Linked DNA regions of Homo sapiens: regions 1, 3 and 4 are each linked to region 2. The links are contacts of gene promoters, found by promoter capture Hi-C in human tissues and cell types (Jung and others, 2019). All regions are on one chromosome and are shown on one strand. Each heading gives the region's core, a stretch centred on a gene start or on the middle of the fragment in contact. The rest is flanking DNA. Distances are from core to core; before and after follow the strand shown.

Region 1 (2,700 bases), core at 158-2,657, 240 kb after region 2:
TAGAGTCTCTTGCTTTTGGGACACCTGTTGATGGGGTGGACTCTTCATTGAGGATGGTCATACTGACTTGGGCAGGGAATGTGAGCCTCTGTGTTTAAAAGGCATCCGGATGGGTCTTATGGCCAGGGCAGCACCTCACTGGGGACCACAACCCAGCACCCTTTCCAGCACCTTAGTGTGACTACTTTCCCCAGAGCAGACAAATGTCAAGGGAAATGATTGAAGCAAACACAGTTCCAGATCCTGTGCTTTTGCCAAGAGACTACTGTGTAAGCAGGATCACCGATCTGTCAATTCCAGTTAAGAAACAGCTGCCAAGTGAAGCATGGTGTCCAAACCATAGGCAAGTTCTTTCTGTAGAAAGGGTTGCAGCAGCCTAGTAATGAGAAGGCTTTCTCAGGTGTGCAGGAGAATTTGAGTGTGGGTCACCTTAGGAAGCTCTCTTGTCCCCTCCATTGCACACACAGACCCCAGGGCCCTTTCTTCAATGAGCTGCTCATGGGCCTGGCTCAGGTGTAATTCCTGCAGACCCAGCTGTTGGACAGGACTTGAGTATAGCGTCCTGGCCACAGGGTGAAAAGCCCTGTCTCTGGGAGAAGAGAGTGCAGATACTATTTATTTCAGACCTGACGTCCTCGGAGAACAGTGCTGGCCTGGCCTCCATGTCAGAGGTGTGTTATGTCTGAGCTCAGGGCCCCACGGCAGCCCCACGCCACGTGATGCTGACTTTCGACCAGCTCCTCTTCCCCCTACCTAAGACAATTCTACTCTCTAGCGTTTCGGATCCCCCTTGCGCTCAGGGTAAGTGCAAGGCAATGCTCTTCCCAGCTCTGTGTGCACTGAGGTCACCCCACAAGACCTTGTCACTGATCACTCACTGCTGTCTCCACCTTTCCGTGGCTGGTAACCAGAAGCACTGGGATGCCTTCCTTCCAGGGCAGGATTTGACTCTGTTCTAGAGTTGGTCATTTTCTGGGGAGGCCCCCTGTCTTGAGCAGAAGCCCACAGAAAGGCCTGCCTTTCCCAGTTTATCTGACAGGCACTCCTGCTCAGTATCAGACCGTGCACTCCTGGGGGTGTGGCAAATCTGGGATCACAAATAGACCGGAGGCTCCCATGTCCATCACTCTTAGGGTGCGGGGGGATGTCCCTGAAATGCGTGGTAACAAGGTCTTACAAACTCGAGGTCAAACCCCAAATCTACCACTTTGGATACGTCAGCTGGGTTCTCTGCCTCTGGTCTGATTTTTGTGTGGGGTGGCCACAGATCTCTCAGAGTTTAGAGGAGTAAATGAGATAAGACAGCTTTGTGACTCTGAAAGCAATCTGTGCAAAGTGGTATTATTATTGTTTTGTTGTTATTGCAATTATTTTGCCCACATCCTTTTAAATAATTATTATAACTTGTGCAATTGGAAACCCCACTCTCCCTATAGCTAGGTGCATTGCCTAGGGTATCGTTTACTCTGACTTTCTTCCCTGTTTACCTTTTATCTCCAATCTCGGTCAGGTGGCGACTGGCCTAGGAGGAAGGGACGACCAGGCCTGGCTCTGTTCTGAGCTGATTCTGTGACTTTCCAAGTCATCTTATTTCCGTTGGTCTCTGTTTCCTCATTTGTTACACGAGGCTTGACTAGCATATCACTTAATATTCCTATCAGACCCAACATCCTAGCAGTTTTCAGCTCTCATGTCAGCAGTGGAGGTCAAGAGCAGAATCACACAGACCTGAGTTTACAGCCCAGATCTCCACACTCACCCGGGCAACCTCGGACGGGCTGTCTGTCTCGCAGAGGTGTGCTGGGGCCTGCGTCCTTGCAGGCCCATGGGAGCCCAGTGATGCGTTTTCAGGAATTTCATGAGCCGGTTATGAAACACTGTCACTATTAAAGATCAAATCATTTAAACATACAATTTATATATATATATATATATGTGCTATGTATGCATAACAAATTATGTGGACTTACTTATAATTAGCAATAACTTCTATTAAACACGACGGTGATAAACATGGAAACTGCTCACCTCGCACCGTTGCGGGGCATCGACCGCGCTTCACGCTCACGGGGAGGGAACGCCGCCGTGTTGTTCCCACTCCGTCTCTTCCTAACCCCGTCAGTGCTGTCTGCTTGCTACCTTGGAATCGGCCGTGACGGGGACCCCTTGGAAACTGGAAACCACCGCACATCAGGACTCAGAGCTGGGATCGAATATTTACCCACGACGGCTGCCCGGAGGCCTCGGCTTCCTTGTCTACAATGGGGCAAAATGACGGCTCACAGAGTAGGTCCGAGCTTGCCCTGGAGCCGTGCGGGCGGCCCGGCGCAGAGCAGGTGTCCACAGATATTCGCTGCTTCCCTCTGGCTTTGCTTGTGACCAGGGAGGCGAGGCCGGGCTCACACCGAGGATAAAAATGTTTCCTTGTGGCGTTCTCATTCCAGGCAGGCCCTGCTCCTCACTCCTAGAGATTCTGATTCTGTAAGCCCGGGAGTCTGCATTTGAAAACATCCCCCAGGGCCCCCAGATCACCCACATTCCCCAGAGGGTCCTGGCACCCAGGCCACAGAGCCCGGGCCACGTGTGCTGGTGCCAGCCCATTCCCAGGCGACGCGTCCACGGTGTGCACTGCGGAGGGAGCAGGGGCCCTGGAAGGCTGTGAGACCCGAGGCCACGGGCATTCATTGCTCCTCAGAAGCC
Region 2 (2,700 bases), core at 151-2,650:
CTTTGCGGGGCTAAGGCGCCACTCTGGGAAGTCCAGCCCTTTGCCAGTCTCTTAACTTTCGCGGCGCCTGCCCTTTGCTCTTGGATGTTTCGAAGAGGACGCTCCTACCAGCGAAATGACTGCAAAGCCGAGGTCTCCAGCGCCCGGCCTCGGCGGATCCAAAAAGACGGGAGAGAAAAGGCCCGCGCAGACGCTGCAACGAACGCCCCGGAAACACGCCGCGAGCAGGGGCCAGGCCCAGGCCGCCGCCGCTGCGCTCACCCCCAGCTTAATTCCCCGGGCGGCCATTAGGCAGAGCCAAGCCCCCGACCTTCTCCTCGCCTCGCGAGGGATCACAGGCTGCGTCAACGCGCTGGGACACCGCGGGTCACCCGAGGCGGTGCGGGGGCCCGGGAGGGGCCGCGGGCCCCCGAACAAAGCTGGCCGGGCGGCGGGGTCCCCAACCCGCGTCCAGCGGTAGGTGGGCTGCGGTCGCCTTCCCCGCCGCCGCCGGCCTCAGCGTCCTGGCGCAGAGACCCTGGGGGGCGGCGCGGCGGCGGAGGCACCGTGGACTCCCTCCCGCCCCGGCCTCCGAGCCGTCCTCGAGCCGGCCGCGGCCTCGGCGCCCTTCGCGGGCAGCTCCCCGACTCCGAGGAGAGGAGCCAAGTTTACTTCGCCCACAACTCTCTCGGCGGCCGCGCGCGCTCCGGCGAAGTACCCGGGGCCCCGCGGCCGGCCTGGCGCGGGGCGGACGCTTGCCCGCAGGAAGCAGGGAACTTTCTCCCGCTCCCGGACGCGCGCATCCGCTCCCGCCGCACGCGCTTCCCCAGCCCGGACGGGCAGCCCCAGACCCCCCGGCCACCCCGCAGCCCCGGCCCTCACCGTGCTCGGGAGCCCCGTCAGGCGGCAGCAGCTCCTCGTCCGACTTGAGGTGCTGGGGCTTGGCCTGCTTGCGCCGAGACATGCTGCTAGCGGCGCTCGGGCCCCGCGCGGGGCAGCGGCATCAGCGGGGCGGCCGGCGGGGACGGCGCGGGGCGGCCTGGCGGGCGCGCGGCGCGGGGCGCGGGGCGGCGGCGGCTGCGCGGGCCGCGCATGGGGCTGAGCAATTAGGCTGGTGAATAATGCATGGCCATTAGCGGAGGGCCGCGCCGATTGGCCGGGCTCCAGCGGACTCCGGCGGCCTATGCAAATGAGGCCGCGCTCGCAATTAGCGGCCGCGCCGACGAGGAGGGGGCCGCGGCGCCTCGGGACCGGGGCGCGCGCTGCCCGGCGCCGCCTCACATCGCGGGCTCCGGCGCCGCGCTCCTCGGCCGCCCCGGGTGCGGCTGTGGCGGGGCCCGGGTGCGGCGCGGGCCGCGGTGGCCGTCCCTCCGCAGGGCGCAGGCAGCAAACTTTGGCGGCGTCCGCGCGGCGCCGTCTCCGCCGGCGCGCCGGGCTCGCCCCTTTATAGAGTGTCTGCGCCGCCGCCCGCGCCCCCCCCGCCGCCGCCGCCGGGCGGCCCCTCCCGGAGCGAGCGGCCGCGGGCAGGGCTCCGACCCGGCGCCTTTGTCTCGCCCGGGCCGCTCGGGCGCCGCGCCTCCTGTTCCGGGCGCGCGGGGTCGGCCGGCCGCCTTCGCTGCTCCGCCGCGGCTCTCAGCGCCGCTCAGCGCGGCGGGCCCGCCCGGGCTCAGGTGCCCCCCGCTCTCCGGACCTTCTCGCCCGGCCCCGCGTCCCCTCCGCGGGCTTCCCCCGGCGGCCGGCCGGGCTCGGAGGCTCGCGGCCGGAGCGGAGCGGAGTGCGCACGCCGGGGTGGCAGGACTTCGGCAAGACCAACTTTCCGGTTCGGAAGCGGCGCGGGCCGCGCGGCTCCTCCCCTCCTCTCCCTCCCCTGCGTTCCCCCTCCCTTCCACTCCCCCCTCTCCCCGCCCCCCAACCCGCGGGCCCCACCGACTCCGGAGCGCCCGCCCCGCCCGCTGCTGCCACCGGGCCGCCTCGCCCCCGCGCCAGCCCGCCTGGGCCTCTGCGCCGCCGGCGGCTTCTTAAATACAGGAAAGGGAGGGGACCGCAGGGCCCCGGTGTTCCCCACCCTAGTCCCCCTTCACCACGGGCCACCGGGCGCCAGCGGAGTGGGCAGCGAGCGCGACCGAAAGTTCCAACTCCACCAAACTCCCGCGCGCGGCCCACCCTTTCCCGGGATTTCGGGGATGACACGGGGGCCAGGTGAGGGGGCTGCGCACTTCTGGATCGGCCCCACACACTCGGCCCCTGGCGCGGCGCGCTCCCCGCACACGCGCCCGCCCCCTCCCCGCGGTCACACGCACGCGCCCTCGCCCTCGCCCCGCGCGCACAGGCGCGTACTCCCACCCGCGGCCGTGCACCCGCCGCGCTCCTTCCCGCGCGTGTCCTCTCTCCCCGAGCGGCCGCCAGGATGTGCCCCCGGCCCCGTCGTCGCCGCGCCCGCGCCCCTCGCCCCAGTACGTCTTTTTTCGTTTCCTAAATTTCTTATTTTTGTCCTTGCAAGTGGTCCTGTCTGGTGTGAACCGTCAGCACAGATGGCCTCCTGGAGCTTCCCCGAGTCGTTCGCTGGGGGAAGCGGGCGGTGAGCGGCCAGCCCGGGCGCTCCGCAGGCCGCGAGCTCCCGGCAGGGCTGGTGGCGGGGGTCCGCCTGGGGGAGGAATCCCCGCCTGCTCCATCGGACCCGGCCTGGCGCGGCTCGCGGCGCTCGGCGGGCTCCCTTCCATT
Region 3 (2,739 bases), core at 62-2,561, 230 kb before region 2:
GTACCTGCAAAAACATGAAAGTGGTCCTTGTAGAAATACTTTAAAGATGAGTAAAAGATAACACTTTCTAATTAATTGTTTTGATGGAAAGTATTATCACACTATTTGATTTTATATAAATTTATCCAACAGTGTATTTAATTTGGCTAATTCAAGAAAATCTAATCTCAACTTTAAAAATGGACTTTGAAAAAGTCAAATGATTTGTTAAGCAATACAAATGTACCCACATATAACATTAGGAAACGTACTAATATTCTTTTCACTGACAATAGAGATAATGACAATGGCCTTTCACTACTGTCTACTAAAATGGTGGTTCTATCACTGAAGGTCAATTAAGAGGCTATATCCTTAACTAATCAAACTTGTCCTTTGACCTTCAAATAAAGATGGTACCAGATGAACCACTTTCTTTTAGTGTATTTCCACTGTAAAGATCAAAGTATTACTAAATATCAGTGACAGCCTTTGCTAATATTTCAAAATGTGTACAATTAAAATAATAGAAATATTATAAAAAACGGTATTTGACTTTGCATTTAGAAGCTATTACTCTCTTTTACACGTCAAAAAGATATAATAATTTTTAAATTTAAGAGAAAAGAATAATAAAATATCCTTGGTATGACCGATAGATTTCAAAGGCTAAAGGGCACTTATCTCTAGAATGTCAGTATTAAAAACCATGGAAATCTCTTTCTGAAACTACAGCCATATATAATTTATATTCCTAATTTTCATCCTTAATTTTTTGTAAATTTTGAAGGTGAGAAACACAATTAAGGTGAGAAAGTATATACACATAATGTGCAATTACCAACCATTACAGAATTAACTATAATAATTATATGAAAACTCTGATGTCACATTAACTTAACATGTAAAATGCAGAGCATCATAAGACAGGCTCTTTGAAGTAAAGATGATTGATATGAACTCCCGGCTTTTCGTGAACCTTGATATGTTACATATTATACATATCACATGGCTTACACCTTCCTCTCTAGAAAATCTAGGAAGGTGGAAGATGTGAAGTATTCCCCAGCAGGGATATGTGTGGAGATTATATATATTTCTCTTTTAATTGAGTGTCACTGAGAAGTGTGAGGCTTCAGTTTGTAAAAGTTCATGAAAGGCAAGGCCAGCTCACACTTAGAATATAAGCTCCCCGATGCACAAATGCCGTCTTTATTACTATTATCCACATAAACTTCTGAGATTAGATGACTATACTTACTACGCAGAGAAATATTAAATATATAATACAATACTATAAAAAGCTTTCAAAAGGAGATCATAGAATTACTTCACATCAGTGAAGCTAAATATTAAATATCATCTGATCAGTATTTTCTGTTTTGCCAATCTAGTTTAAATCAAAATATAAACATCCCACTAATGTTAAATTATCACAATGATGTAAGAAGGCAAACTGCAAAATTAACTTATTTTTTAACATTAGCAGAATGAGCAAATCTCAGAAAAGGCTTTGCAAGAATTAATCAAGCTAGAAACCGTTGAGCTGAAAGCAGGTTGACTGATGAGCAAAGTGGACTCTAGAGTGGCCTTACAATGCACAGTACCTCAATTCAATGTGATACATAACAAGGCATATGTTATACATTTTTAACAGAGGTCCTGGTACAATATTTGTATAATCTGTTAAAGTTTGCTAAAGGCTCTCGTAAGTATTCTCTCACTTGATTCTCATGAAAAATCAACACTTACTAGAATTAGATTAAATGAATTTTTCTGAGTGTCATGCTTTTTAATATCTAACGTAACTAGAATCAGTGCAGAAATATTTGGGACATTTTCCATTCTCTTTCACAAAGGGTATGTACTTATGAAGTACAATAGGCTAAAAGACTGAGTAAAACCTGAGTATACAAGGCAAAACAGAGGAAAGGGATTAACTGTGGATTGCGAAATGAGACATGAGAGGGCAACAAAGTATGATAAACTCATTTTGTGTCGTATAAGATAACAGGAGACTGAATGTGACAAATATAAATGTCACAAAGATTTCTCACTCAATGAAATACTTAAACAGAAGAATTCCAAAACTTTAACCCATATTTTCAGTGTAAAATCAAGATCCACCTCCCTCACAACGCGCTCCAACTGGAGAAACTTCTACATCAGAAAGACCTGAGTTCAGGACCATGTTGGTAGATTAAAACCACAACCACAACAACAAACCAGTTCTTAACAGGACCCTAAAAATGATGGTGGTCCAGTATTCATCATTAAATCAAAAATTTAACTTCATTTATCCCAAGACAACATTTTAAAAGATTTAGGAGCACTTAATCTTCAAAGCCAGTGATTACATTTGCCTGATCCATAACTGCACACTTCAAATTGACTACAGGTAAAAATTAATATTAAATATTCAGATGCTTTGGGTCCAAAAAGGGAGGCATAAAATATGACCACATTTACTCCTACACTCCACAGACCCCATGACTAGGGCCCTCGAGACTTAGCCTACTTCAAAGAGGCTGCTATGTGGATGGTCTGCAAGTCATTCTATAGTCCAACCCTATCATGTCCAACTTCTGTTCAATCACAATTTCATGTGAGTGGGATAATAATTACTCTGTTAGTTACTATGTGCCTTCCTTGCTACAGGCTATATAGAAAATTTCATGCAAAATTATACCACCTTCTAATTGACTACAGTTGTATTTTAAGCAAACAACTTCCATGTTGCAAAGCAAGACAAAGAATGCT
Region 4 (2,732 bases), core at 57-2,556, 170 kb after region 2:
CCTGGGCACAAGCCATCCTCCCACCTCAGCCTCCCAAGCAGTTGAGACTACAGGCCTGCACCACCAGGCCTGGCTAATTTTTGTATTTTTTGTAGAGGCGGAGTCTTGCTATGTTGCCCAGGCTGGTCTTGAACTCTTGGGCTCAAATGATCCTCCCGCCTTGGCCTCCCAAAGTGCTGGGATTGCAGGTAGGAGCCACCACATCTGGCCAGGACAATTTTTGAAAGCATCTGACTCAACTCTGGCCAATAAGTGTGTGAATATGCATGCACATGTGTGTGTGTGCATGTAGTGTCTGGGCCTGTGTATGTGTGAATGTGCACATATGTGTGCACCTGTGTGTGTGCATGCATGTGGTGTGTGTGAATGTGCACGTATGTGTGCATGTGTGTGTGCATGCGTGTGGTGTGTGCATGTGTGTGCATGTGTGTGGTGTGTGCATGTGTGTGTGCATGCGTGTGGTGTGTGTGCGTGCATGCATGTGGTGTGTGCGTGTGTGCGTGCATGTGTGTGTGCGTGCATGCGTGTGGTGTGTGCATGTGTGTTTGCGTGTGGTGTGTGCATGTGTGTGCATGCATGTGGTGTGTGCATGTGTGTGTGCATGCATGTGGTGTGAATGTGCACGTATGTGTGCATGTGTGTGCATGCGTGTGGTGTGTGCATGTGTGTGTGCATGCGTGTGGTGTGTGCATACGTGTGGTGTGTGCATGTGTGTGTGCATGTGTGTGGTGAGTGCATACGTGTGGTGTGTGCATGTTTGTGTGCATGCATGTGGTGTGTGCATGTGTGTGCGTGCATGTGTGTGGTGTGTGCATGTGTGTGGTGTGTGCATGTGCGCTACTGGGTTGGGTTGATTTAGCTGCATATTATCTACCTTTGTGTTGTTAGTTATTGAGAAAATAATTTCATCTCAGAAGTAAGAGCTTTACAGGAAGTCACACTGACAAGCTGATGAATATTGAGGTACCTTATAAATAGCCCCACTGCCATCACAAGAAGGGGGTATGCTATGCATCGTTGTGATTTGTGTGATATTCCGAGTCCTGGGAGATTGGGTAAGGCTCAGGATCTTAGGTGCAGTGTGGGGTCCTCTGAGTGGGGTCCTCTGTGGGCTGTCTCAGCTCCTGTTTGTGAAGTGGTGTGAGATCCTTAAAAGCGAGTTTCTGCTGATGTGACAGTGATGGCCATCAGGATTGCTGTCTGCCGTAGTTACTCTCGGGGAGTTTGTCTCTCCGTAATGACCACTTCTTCATGCCCACATTCTCATACTGGGAACAGCTGAGGAAACCTGAAGCAAAGTAAGACTAACCACTACAAATCCTGTTGGTAGTGAGCCCTTTTGGGTGGATAATTCCAAAGACTCTATTCTCCAAATAGCCTTTCCATTGGAGTTTGCAGATTTGAGTGATAGACAATGGAGAATTTATTTTTATTTTTTAGTTCAAATCTTCATTGCACCAAATAGCTATCAGATGGCTCTCTGTGGAAGATGGGATTAAAATGCAGGTCCTTGTTCAAGCAAGAGGAATAATCTCATTTAAATGGTTAAAGAATAAGCACAGCATGAATGCTGTTTCATCATTGTTAAGCCCAGCTTTGTCCTCATTACTGAAGAGAAGACACCTTAATTTTTGCTGTGAGAAGCCAAAGAATCAAGTGGTTGGTCAAATTAAGAAGAGGCCATCCATCCATCTATCCATCCATCTGTGCAACTGCTGGGGACTGAAGCAGCACGGCCGGGTACTGGTTACCAAAAGCAAACTTAATTGCCAATTATGGGATCACAGACACCTGAAAACCCTGGCGCCGGGAAGTTCACTGAGAAACACCTACCTCGGGTGTTTTAGTGAAGGAAACACTTACCTTGGGTGTTTTAGTGAATTTAAGGACTATAATAAAATTGAGGCAAAGGACAAATATTCTTTTGCACGTATGTGAAATCTCTAAGTGGTCTAAGGAATTAGAGTGAGCTGCAGGTGCTGTGTGTGTGTGTGTGTGTGTGTAAGGATCCTTATGAGGACAGTTAGGACTGTTCTAAAAGCTTTGCAGGGCATTTTTCCTGTTCTTTTTTTAGTGACTTGTTAGGAAGGGGCCCTGGTGGAGGCTCAGGGCCGGCCATTCAGCCCCCAGCTCAACCCATGCTTTCCTTCCTTATCTCTACAGAGGAATTCATCCATGCTCTGAGCCACAGGCCTTCCATGTAACGAAGGCCACACGTTTGCATAACACAAACACATGTCTTTATGCATCTATGTAAAATGCGCACTACCAACAATTGTTATGGGGGTAATTCTGCTCTATGAAGTTGTAGCCAACACTGAAATAGTGAATCTGGAGCCATTGCTCCTAGGGGAAATACAAGTTCAGGTTCCTGAGAGCCTCCAGTCACAACAGTTTCATCAGCCAGTCAATATATAATTTTGTTTAGTGTGTGTTTTTGTTTGAAGATGCTTTATTTAGTATCTACTGTTGATTCATTAGCATTGAACTCAGGGCCAGCAGCACTGTAGCTTGTGCTGAACGAAGCTTCTCTACATGCGTGTTTTCTCTACACCAGGCAGTGCTCCAGCACCGCACTTGGGGATGTTTTAAACAGTGAAGTCTGCAACAGCACTAAACAGATGGGGAAAGGACACTTGTTTGGAGTCTGACAGCTGAGAGAAGGCTGTGTGTCACCCTGCATGGCCTCAGCTGGGAGCGAGAGCATTGGTGACTCATTTTCTGCTGCTCTG

What was found. Contacts are between HindIII fragments. The study calls those that stand out against the background at their distance.
Region 1: a fragment that was not itself captured here is called in contact with the fragment with the promoter of SALL3 in region 2 in 2 of the 25 tissues and cell types used here (H1 embryonic stem cells and mesendoderm cells).
Region 3: a contact is called between a fragment that was not itself captured here and the fragment with the promoter of SALL3 in region 2, in 5 of the 25 tissues and cell types used here (H1 embryonic stem cells, adrenal gland, dorsolateral prefrontal cortex and 2 more).
Region 4: a contact is called between a fragment that was not itself captured here and the fragment with the promoter of SALL3 in region 2, in 5 of the 25 tissues and cell types used here (H1 embryonic stem cells, hippocampus, liver and 2 more).

What each region holds. Positions count from the first base shown.
Region 1 is chr18:78,735,571-78,738,270 of GRCh38, reverse strand. No RefSeq gene overlaps it. Among named protein-coding and RNA genes, the nearest start is that of LINC01896, 240 kb to the left of the region's middle. The HindIII fragment of the contact is 9,160 bases long and covers 1-2,700 here.
Region 2 is chr18:78,978,518-78,981,217 of GRCh38, reverse strand. It overlaps SALL3 (spalt like transcription factor 3), which reads right to left and starts at 1,400. Exons shown (of 3, transcript NM_171999.4): 1 at 862-1,400. The coding sequence starts at 943. LINC01896 (long intergenic non-protein coding RNA 1896) reads left to right here and starts at 1,527. Exons shown (of 5, transcript NR_187297.1): 1 at 1,527-2,178; 2 at 2,480-2,700. The HindIII fragment of the contact is 21,440 bases long and covers 1-2,700 here.
Region 3 is chr18:79,211,227-79,213,965 of GRCh38, reverse strand. It overlaps ATP9B (ATPase phospholipid transporting 9B (putative)), which reads right to left. Exons shown (of 30, transcript NM_198531.5): 11 at 1-4. Among named protein-coding and RNA genes, the nearest start is that of ATP9B, 140 kb to the right of the region's middle. The HindIII fragment of the contact is 7,641 bases long and covers 1-2,739 here.
Region 4 is chr18:78,807,833-78,810,564 of GRCh38, reverse strand. No RefSeq gene overlaps it. Among named protein-coding and RNA genes, the nearest start is that of LINC01896, 170 kb to the left of the region's middle. RefSeq lists enhancers at 73-572, 573-1,074. The HindIII fragment of the contact is 4,117 bases long and covers 1-2,732 here.